Regions from separate parts of the Homo sapiens genome. Here regions 2 and 3 are each linked to region 1. The links are contacts of gene promoters, found by promoter capture Hi-C in blood cells and fetal thymus (Javierre and others, 2016). All regions are on one chromosome and are shown on one strand. The core of a region is centred on a gene start or on the middle of the fragment in contact, and the rest is flanking DNA. Distances in the headings are between cores, read along the strand shown. Region 1 holds the start of KIF20B (kinesin family member 20B). Region 2 holds the start of ATAD1 (ATPase family AAA domain containing 1). Region 3 overlaps RPP30 (ribonuclease P/MRP subunit p30).

What was found. The method cuts DNA at HindIII sites, captures the fragments that hold promoters and counts their contacts. A CHiCAGO score of 5 or more calls a contact.
Region 2: a contact is called between a fragment that was not itself captured here and the fragment with the promoter of KIF20B in region 1, in 1 of 17 cell types (activated CD4 T cells). The highest score is 5.2, in activated CD4 T cells.
Region 3: a fragment that was not itself captured here is called in contact with the fragment with the promoter of KIF20B in region 1 in 1 of 17 cell types (total CD8 T cells); the score reaches 5.0 in total CD8 T cells.

Annotation. Positions count from the first base shown.
Region 1 is chr10:89,699,758-89,703,104 of GRCh38, reverse strand. KIF20B (kinesin family member 20B) reads right to left here and starts at 1,515. Exons shown (of 33, transcript NM_001284259.2): 1 at 1,425-1,515. RefSeq lists enhancers at 837-1,353, 1,354-1,869 and a silencer at 1,914-1,993. The HindIII fragment of the contact is 4,302 bases long and covers 1-2,012 here.
Region 2 is chr10:87,817,422-87,820,768 of GRCh38, reverse strand. It overlaps ATAD1 (ATPase family AAA domain containing 1), which reads left to right and starts at 2,543. Exons shown (of 10, transcript NM_001321967.2): 1 at 2,543-2,602. It also overlaps the pseudogene CFL1P1. RefSeq lists a silencer at 2,396-2,445. The HindIII fragment of the contact is 903 bases long and covers 1,214-2,116 here.
Region 3 is chr10:90,894,086-90,897,432 of GRCh38, reverse strand. It overlaps RPP30 (ribonuclease P/MRP subunit p30), which reads right to left. Exons shown (of 11, transcript NM_006413.5): 7 at 2,542-2,658; 8 at 1,950-1,979; 9 at 1,516-1,553; 10 at 1,041-1,120. Among named protein-coding and RNA genes, the nearest start is that of RPP30, 24 kb to the right of the region's middle. The HindIII fragment of the contact is 428 bases long and covers 1,294-1,721 here.

The sequences.
Region 1 (3,347 bases), core at 266-2,765:
GAAAAGTGTTGATAAATCTTTTAAATTGCTGAATTAAAAAGAATATTCCTATGTACTAAAAGCAGTTATAATAAAGTATTTGTTCATATGCTCATTTTTCAATGAACAAACTACTTCCTAGCATTTCTAAAAGTGTTCAGACTTACTGTAACTTCTTGCGATTTTAGATGACTTCTACTTATACGTGGCCTTCCCAACTAAACTGGAAACTTCTTGATGGCAAGAACCTTGCCTTATACCACTCTGTATCCCCTATAACAAATTCAGCGACTTATGCAGGGATAAAGACTACCTAATGACTTAAAATAATGGTTATAAAGAAAATACTATTCCAAAAAAAAAAAAAAAAGTCGGTCCTAGTCTGTAATATTATCTTTCGTGACAGCAGGCTCCAAGACCTCATTTTTCATTTCAAAAGGCTGCTCTGACTGGAAAACTGCATATTTACCCTCTCTCCAATAAGAATCCACAATTGGAGACTTTGGTGAAAAATAGCAGAATCTGTTGCTGAATGAGGTTTCTGAATGTGGTCTACAACACAAAGCCTCAAAAAAAGTCTTCACAACTAATCGATGAGTATTTTATGTTATTTTTACAATTTAAAATCTGGAGTCTTGGACATGTAAGATAAATACACTGTTACACTACCTAACCCATAAGGCGTGAACTTCTGTAAACTAGTAGTTTAGCAAGAAATATAAGAGAACTGTGCCAGACATGCATCACTGAACCAGCGAGCGAATCGAGATGGAGAAAGCCTTCTAAACTGGGGAATGACAGCAGTCACTGTGCCACAAACTCTTCAGCCTGGCACTGCAAAACCCTAGAAGGGCAAGCCCCAAGGACCAGTAGGAGTAGTCTGGAAATAAGTGCACAGAGGCTACCACAGGGCTCCCCCCGCAAAAAGGCCGTGTTACCTACCAGCCGAGCAAACTGCTCACCTCAGAGCTTCAGAAAACTAGGTGTGGCAAAACAGGCCTGTTCCTCAACAACAACAGAAGCAACAACAATAATAATATTAATAACTGCAAACATTTAGTACCTACTGTGTGCCAGCACTAATAACTTTACACATTACCATTTAATCTTCACAAAAGCCGAAAGAAATAGACACTTCATTGCAGCCTTTTAACTGATAAGAAAACTAAGGTACAGAGAGAGATTAAATGAATTGTCTTGCGTCACTCAGCTAATTAGCAGTGGAGGCGAGATTTAAACCGTAACCGAATTAGTATGACTCATTCCTCGCTGCGTACCCCGTGTTCGCATCGCTCCGCAACCCAGTTCCTGACAGTAACCTCCACTGGGGTATGAGCCCTGTCGGAACATGTCCACATTGCCAAAGCCGTTTCCCCACCTTAGGCCCCATACATGCGCAGTCACCCACCTCCTTCCCCACACATTCCCGCGGGTCACCTCCTCACCTGCAAACTTCGCCTGACTAGCCAGACCCGCGAGCAGCACTGCGATGTTACCGTTTTCAAATTCAAACAATGGCGGCCAGGGCACCGCACTGAACGCTGGGAGTAGGTGGGGCGTCCAGAGCTCCGCCAGGGAGCGTAGCCGGCTCGCGCTGCGGGCTTTCCAGTGGCTACCGGAAGAAGCTCTCCAATATGGGGGCGGGTCTTGAAACGCGGGCAGCCAATGGGCGGAAGCAGGCGTGGGCCGCCCTGGTGCTGACGGTCTGGTTTGCCTCCCAGCTCTGCTAGCCGGGCTTTAGTAGTGCGCTTTCTCGCGGCTGTCATAAGTACCACGCTGTTGACTGGGACACCGATCTCCAATTCTGTCCTTGAGGCAATAAAGATGTGGCGAAGGCCCGAGGTGAGGCCACTGCCACTGCACTTAGTCCTGCGACTCCCCTAAGGACGGGCCGAGGAATGGCGGGCTAGCCACTTCCCAGTCCTGTCCCTACGGGGCAGAAAAAGGCTCGGCATCCCGGGATCCGGAGGGTCACTTCCCTCGCTGCATCCCCATTGTGCAACTGCCAGTCTAAAAATTGATATAGGTAAGCTTATGAATGCTAAAACTAATGAATGCAAGATGCTAAAACAAACAATTAACTGAAAGGTTGTAGGGAAGAGGATGTTAGTATCTCAAAGAATCACCCTACAGATCATTTCTTATTATAAAGGGAAAATAGAATTTTACACTGAAGAGATTTATTAGACATACCTTAACCAAGTGAAGATACTTAGCATCGCTAATATCACCCGATAGTATTTGTGCTAGAAATGTTTGACATTAATCATGAGGAAACAATCAGAAAAAAACAATGTAGAATATTCTACAAGACAACAGGCCTAGGCTCTTCAAAAATGTCAGTGTCATGACAGGAAAAAGAAAAAAACGAAGTGGAAAATTACTTTAGTCGAGAGTCAAAAGAAACCAAATGAAATTTGTGAATCTTGGCTGGTTCATAGTTTTTAAAAAAAAAAAAAAACTTCGAAAGACATTTGTGGACAACTGGGGAAATTTAAATATGAACTACATATTAGATGATATTGAATCAGTTTTAAATTGATTGCATGTGAGAATTAATTTGTGATTAAGTGGAAGAATGCCTTTGTTTTTGGAAGGCGCTTGCTAAAGTAATTAGCAGCAAAGTGTCACAGTGTTTGCGGCTTACCTTCAAAAGATATGGCAAAAAAATAGAGAAAGCAAATGTGGCAAAATATTAGTAATTGGTGAATCTAGTTGAAGGGTATAATGGTGTACATCGTACCAGTCTTGCAACTTTCTAAAATAACAGATTTTATAAAATAAAAAGAGGAGGGGGGAAAAGGAATAGAATTCTGATCTTTACCATGGCCTCCCAGGTCCTGCACAATCAAGTGTCAGCCGACCTCACTCCCCACTAACTGTACAGTAAGTTGATCTGCTCTGGATACCTCAAACACCAACTTCTTTCCAGCATGTATGAACCTTTGCATGGGTTGTTCCCTGTACCTAAATTCTCTCTTCTCCATTCAACACGTGGCACTTCCCTTCATCATTTAGGTTACGTCTAAAATAGTACCTTCTTAAAGAAGACTTTCCTGGCTACTGTATCTCAAGTGAGCACTCTTTTTTTATTTGCAGGTTCAATTTCATTTTTATACTTTTTACAACTAGCAATTGTTGTTGTTCCCCCACCCTGTAAAATCTAAGTTCTGTGAGTAGAATAACTGTGTTTTGTTTGGTCGCTAATGTATCCTCAATGACTCTCTAACACAAGACAAGCAAATCAATATTTGTTGAACAATGAATGAAAGCTGATGTGGCTGGGTAGAGACCATGGGGAGGAGTCAGGGGAGTGAATCTGTAGGCATGGGCCAAGGCCAGACCCTGTAAGCCTTAGCCAAGTTACT
Region 2 (3,347 bases), core at 416-2,915, 1.9 Mb after region 1:
TTCTTACGGATTTGCTAAATGAAAATATTAGGTCCAAAACATATAGGTGTAGGCATTTGGTTTCCAGTGGCTGAACCACTGGAAAGGGAGTGAGGTGTAGCACTTTTCGAGCTTGTAGACTCTTTATGGTCAGCCTCGTGACTTTATTCAACAGTTTCCCTTCCTGTGCAATCATCCCTCAAATATTAGGCAGATGAATTGAGACTAGATGTAACCATACTGGGAACTCCATTTCATTGTAGGATTCATTTAGGATGTCTCTAGTAGAGTGACTCATGATTTGCCTGAGACTTTGTCAGCCAGTTTTATATCCCAGCAAACCTTTTAGTCTCATGCAAACTGAAACTGGGTAGGCTGGTCACCCTGGTCCTTAGAAGAGGGCAGGTGAGGCTCTTAGTTGAACCAATTTCACTCAGTAAATGAATGAAAATCCATTACTATCTTGAATTTCTCAGCTCATTTTCCTTACCAGTGGATATAATTACCCTATTGGGGCACAAAACCTGTTTCTTGCCTTTAGTGACCCTCCCCCTTTTAGCCCTGCCAAACCATGTGTCCATGAGCCTCCCAAGCAATGATTCAGCTTGGGATCATCCAAGGACCCAGTGGAGAGTCTCTTGAAAGTCTGCTGAGCACTGATAGCCTCTGTTTTTTGTTGTTGTTGTTGTTGTTTGTTTTTAATGAACATTGTCCTCGTCTCATAATCTTTCCGTTCTTCTCAAAGGTCTATCTCTCTAAATAGTCTAGTAATCCCAAACCTAGCTTCACATCCATTTTTTTTTTAAATTAGGAATGTAGGCATGCACGTATATAAAGCCTTAAATACTAAACAGGCACGGGTGTATTCAATTCCATTCTGATTCCTGTCCATGAACTTAATCATAGTTTTCAACATTCATGCATCCCTTTCATCCCATCCTTTAAAGCCTTGTGATTTTGGCATTTCATGGTCTTACTTTCAACTAGATTTTAAAGTTTAGCTGGTATTAAATTACCATCTCAAAGAGAAAACGTAAAGTACAAGGTATGAATTAGACAGACCTATGTTCCAATGAAATTGTTGCCTTTATTTCCCAAGTATATGAACTTAGAAAAGTTTCTCTAAGGTTTAAGCTTTAAAATTTGCTCATTTGTAAAAACGGAGAAAATGATAGCTATTTTAGAGGATTTTGGGGGAGATATTTAGGTTATGCATGTAAAGCACATAGAAGCTTATTGCCCCACCCCAGCAGACATTAACTAGGTATTATCTTCACCACATTATTACAAGTTTGTAACTAGTAACATTCGTTAACAATCAGGCTGCAAAATTGTTATTATTATTGAGACAGGGGCTTGCTCTGTCGCCCAGGCTGGAGTGGAGTGGCTTGATCACTGCAGCCGTGATCTCCCACGCTCAAGCGATTCTCCCACCTCAGCCTCCCAAGTAGCTGGGACTACAGACATGCGCCACCAAATCCAGCTAATTTTTAGGTGGTTTTTTTTTTTTTTTTTTTTTTTTTTTTGTAGAGACGATTTCTCATTATGTTGTCCAGGCTGGTCTCGAATTCCTGACCTCAAGTGATCCTCTCGCTTCGGCCTCCCAAAGTGTTGGGATTACAGGCGTAAGCCACCGCGCTGGCCAAGCTGCAGAATTCTTTAGCCATCAAAGATGATGCCTCAAGTAGAAAGGCACAAGCTGCCTTCCTGAGGAACACAGGGAGAACTCTCATTACATCATAGTCTCACCGACTCTGTCTGAAGGAAGTGATGCTTCTCGTATCTCAGGAGTGTCTAATGTCATCTGGCCCACCGGCAGTTTGTGTATTCAGGAGGCTCTGGCTTTCAGGTTTGCTCCCTTGGGACCTCTTGTGTCACGTCGCTCGTTCTGGAAAGGAAAAGGGGTGAAAGAAAAAGGGAAATCACCAAAATGCAAAATCTGTTACCAGATGCCCTATTCCGTCCTAACTACCGAGTCTGGTGGCGTGGGCTGCTAAATCTTTTCGCGGAAAGATTGTCAGGCGCCACCCCGAGGTGTTTGTCAGCACAGAGATGGGGGAGAAGGGTGAGCTCACCCGAGAATTGAAAGGCAGGTGGTGAGGGATGAGGGGTGAGGAGTGGAGGGTGGCCATAAGCTTCTGCGTTTTGGCTAAAGTACAGACACAAAGCCGCGGCGTGAGGGTTTGCACAGAGTGGTGGGAAGGAGAGAATGTATTTGCTGGGTACGCAGAGCATTTCTGCACTCTCAAGAAGGCTGCCCGATTTGTCAGGGTTGCGCCCCGAGCCCGCGAGAAGGGCAGGGACTTTTTGTGATAAGCGCCTTCCCAAAGGTAGTGTCTGTTAAACGCAGAGCCTTAGCGAGTGCTGCTCGCAGACACGCCGGCTTCGCAGAAAGTCTCAGTCTAGCAGGTAGCTTAAGCAGACATCAGGTGCGCGAATTTGCTCTCCCTCACTGTTTCTAAGCCTGGGAGCACGCCCCCTCCGCGCCGGCGACCGCGGGTCGCGCATGCTCCGTGGGAGGGAGTGCGCCGCGCCTCCCGCCGGAAGCGTTCTCTCCCAGGTTGCGTTTCCTTCCTGTGTGAGGCCGGCTGAGGGCACTTGCTCTTGCTGTTTCTGCCCCTGGGTGAGTAGCTGGTTCCCGTGGGGCCTCATGGGATGGTTGTCGTATCCTTCTGAGGTCCTTTAAGGACCGTCTCGGACCTGGGAACCCCCGGAGGAAAGGTCACCCCGGTCTTCTCCCACGCCCTACCTCAGTGCCGCCCCCAAGCGCCCCGCAGCCCTTAGTATCTAGAGGATTAACCTCCAAGGGCGTCCCGGGCCTCGCCTTGGCGTCCGGCCCGGCCTGGGCCCTTAGGGTCTGCTTAGCTCTTCCCCAAGACTCGTGCCATTCCCGAGGGAATCTTTGTCGGCATCCTGGTCACTGTGGGGGTTTGAGGTCGTCCCGGAAGACTTCAGAACCAGGCGAACCTAGACGAAGGCGGCTGGAATGAACCAGGTCTGATTGTCGCACAGGCGCGGCCACCACCTTGTGCAAAATCGAAGGTGGTTCTTCAGGGCCGGGCACGCTTTCACAAAAGATGGTGATGTTAATAATAACCTGCCCTCTTTGTGAAGATTGGCAGGCCTTCATTGTCATAGGCTGTATTCGTAGGGCCTTTATGCCTGCAAAACTGGGACTTTTGAGTTTGAGAAACGATTTGTGAAATACTGCAATGAATTAGGAGAGAAATACTACAGTGAATGCTATGCTATGAATGCTATACATGTCAATAAATTGCTCATAGATGAGGTAGTACGATTTCACGGTTTTCCACTCGGAAATGGAGAACTTAAAATGAAACGACCTGATACCATATTTGCCTAACAAA
Region 3 (3,347 bases), core at 258-2,757, 1.2 Mb before region 1:
TCATCTAATTTACGGCAAGCCAATACATAAGCAGTTCTCTCAAGTGGAAATCAGATCAATAAAGCCCAACACACAAGCCCTCAATAACCTAGCTATTCATATGACAAATAACTCAGTCTATATGTAGCAATCTACTTTGAAGTTTAAAATTCACTTGGGTGATATCAATGAAATTGCTTCTTAACCACTACAACTAGTCCTAAGAATTATAAAGATAACGAAGACAAAACAGTGATCAAAAGCTTAAATTGTTTTAATAAAATTTCACTTTCATTTTCCAAAGTTTCAGCATACTTTCAATTTTTAACATCTGATGAGCAGGAAACTCAGTCAGTGAAAAGGTACATATACAAAATGTGAGTAAAAAATGTACAGTCTGGCCGGGCATGGTGGCTCATGTCTGTAATCCTAGCACTTTGGGAGGCTGAGGTAGGAGGATTGCTTGAGCCCAGGAGTTCAAGACCAGCCTGGGCAACATAGTGAGACTCTGTCTCTATTTAGAAAAAGAAAAAAAAATAAAAAAGGTACAGTCTGGACACAACTTGACCATGTAAGCAAACATGAGAAAAGAAACATTCTGAGTTATAATAAATGTAAAAGTTACAGTCTATGTTTTGTTAGTTGGATTTTTAAAAATGTATTTGCTGGTTTTGTTTTCCTAATAAATAGTTTAACACATATTTTTAACATATCCGTTCTCTAAAACAGAGATTTTCAACAGGGAAAGCATGGCCTTCTGGTGAGGGAGAAGAAGGAAGGGAGATTAGAAGCCTATCAAAATGTCGGCAGGAGCACACATGTATAGCTGGAAGAACTATTCAATACTTATTTCTGTAATGAAAACTATATTCATTCTACAAACTTTAGAAAGTAAAGCCTGAAGTGAGGGTGAGAAAACACTGATGACTGTGTTTAGAACAGGTTGAGAAAAGATGATCCCAAAGGAACTCTGTAGGGTAGGGCAATAAAAATAGGTATGGCTGTAAAAATGACTTGCTTTTAACATGACCATTCAGTTTGTACTGGAAGAACTTGCTTACCTCCATGGAGAAGCGCTGCTCGGCAGTTGGTGGACACCGCAGCCTTGGCGTCACTTTCAGAGAGCCCAAACAGCAAGCCTCTTGGGGGAGCATTAAAGATTTCAACCCAGAGTCACCCAAGGACACGAGACTAACACAAACATAACAGAAAGTGCCAGCTAACCTGGTCATCTTGAGAGGCTAATTAATTCAACAGCAGTTCTTAGTCCAACTGGAACATGCATCTGAGAAAAGACTCATTTAACTCTAAGCTTTTATCATATGAAGTCCCTCATTCCCTCTTTTCTATCTCATGATTAATTAAAAAACAGAAGCATAAAGCTCTCTATAATGTTATATAATTTATTTTTGAAGTTATTAATTGGTAAACTTACAGTAAAAGGTTGAGAAAAATACATGTTCAACTATAATACGACTTCAAATTCAAAATTTCCTGAAAGACAATGTCAACAACTTTTTACTCAGAAAAGGATACAGATTTGCCACGTCATATGGCCCTCTTATTTCTAAAGGCTGAAATAAAATGAACAAAGAGTAGATATGAGAAAATTATTTATAACATTTCAATGACTTATAGCAAATTAATAGAAAATTTAAGTATCCAAAAATAAAAAAATTACATAAATTTAAGTCCTTATAATTTTGATGGGTTTCATAGCTTTTGAAAATATAAGAGAAGCTTGAAAGGCATTTTGTAACAGTATAAAAGAAAAACTGATTATATAAACAAAAGTTGAAGCCTAAAGAAAGTGGGGATAAATTTTACTATTTAGCAATTACAATGAGCAAATGCAGTTAAAATAGAAAAAAATGCAACAAATATTCATTTACTATTTTAATTTATCCCCTAGAAACTGAAAAGTTTTATAACCTGAAAGATGAAAACAAAGTACTTCATGCTAGACTTACCCTTTCTGCAGCACTAGATATAATTACATTCTACAAAATAGAAAGTGACTAATATTAATCTTAGATAAATGTAAAAAAAGGAGTTTCATAATATAAATAGCCAGTAATCATATTTTAACATTTAAGGCTCAAATACCAACTTCTTTTAAAGATAAGGTAAATAATTAAGGTGAAAAAAATGAAAAGACTTCATGTCAAACTAAAGGCAATCTGTAATAAAAAACAAAATATGTTTTCCTAACAGATCTTAGTAAAGGTGAATTAAGTTTAAAAAACAAGATGAAAAGGTCACATATCTTAATTCAACTCAGTGAGGACCATTGTTATTCTAGACTTTTCTTTCACAGTATGTAAATTGCAAATTTTTATCAAAAGATATGGCTTCCAACACATCTTTTTCTCCCTTACATTATTCTTCCCTTGGTATTTTTCTTTCCCTTAAAATTTGCAGAGCTCACTGAAATGGCAGAATTTGTTCCTATGCTATGAGAACATTCTGCTTTAAGGAAAAGGAGTCAGTTTGACAATTCCAGTGTACTACTAATAATAAACTGCCAGATGCGAAAAACATCCTAAAATTATAGAACCATACCTTTCCTTTGCAGATTTGCATCAAATTGAGGGCACTGGAAATTGTATACCTTCTCATTGTGGAGTCTTTGATAGCAGGGCTATAGACAAGTTCAAAAGCCAGGCCTCGGTCAATCGCCTTCACAGGAAATAAAGAGAACTGTCAGAGATAAGCATGCACTGGCCTACTTCATTTTCACTGATTCTCTCTTCACATCCCTCCTCACTCCCTACTACTGACCCCTTACATGTCAAGGTACAGCTTTATGAAAGACAGATCAACACTCAAATGGCACCACCCACAAGGAGAAGAAAATAAATCCGTGGCTCTACTTGATTAAGAGAGTTTAACTTGGCTGTGGGGAAGCTGACTTTACATAAACAGGAATTATGAAGAGGCTAAGAAGAACAAAGTCCCAATGGCGTGAGAGAGGGGCTACTACTCCATGAACTATCAAAAGGAAAACAGAAATGTACTCCCTACATTTACAGTAAACTGTATACAAACATAGTAAACCAAGTAATCTGACCTATGAATGCACAAAGAGACAAAGAAATGAAGAGCTGAAAAAAGCCCAAAGAACCAAGGGCAGGAAGGTCTTTCAGGTAAGTAATTTATTCTCTATATGTTGAAGAGAGAATAACAGCCATAGTTAATTGAGTGCTGACTATATGCTAAGAGAGTCTTATATATAATATTTAATCCTTACTACAATACCTTTATAAAGCATTACTGCAAAGCCTGCAAATTGCCCAGATATCTGTCCTCTCCTTTTTCTTTAGTAATAAAGCCCCTGATTTTTCACTGGGCTTATAGCCGCACAGCAA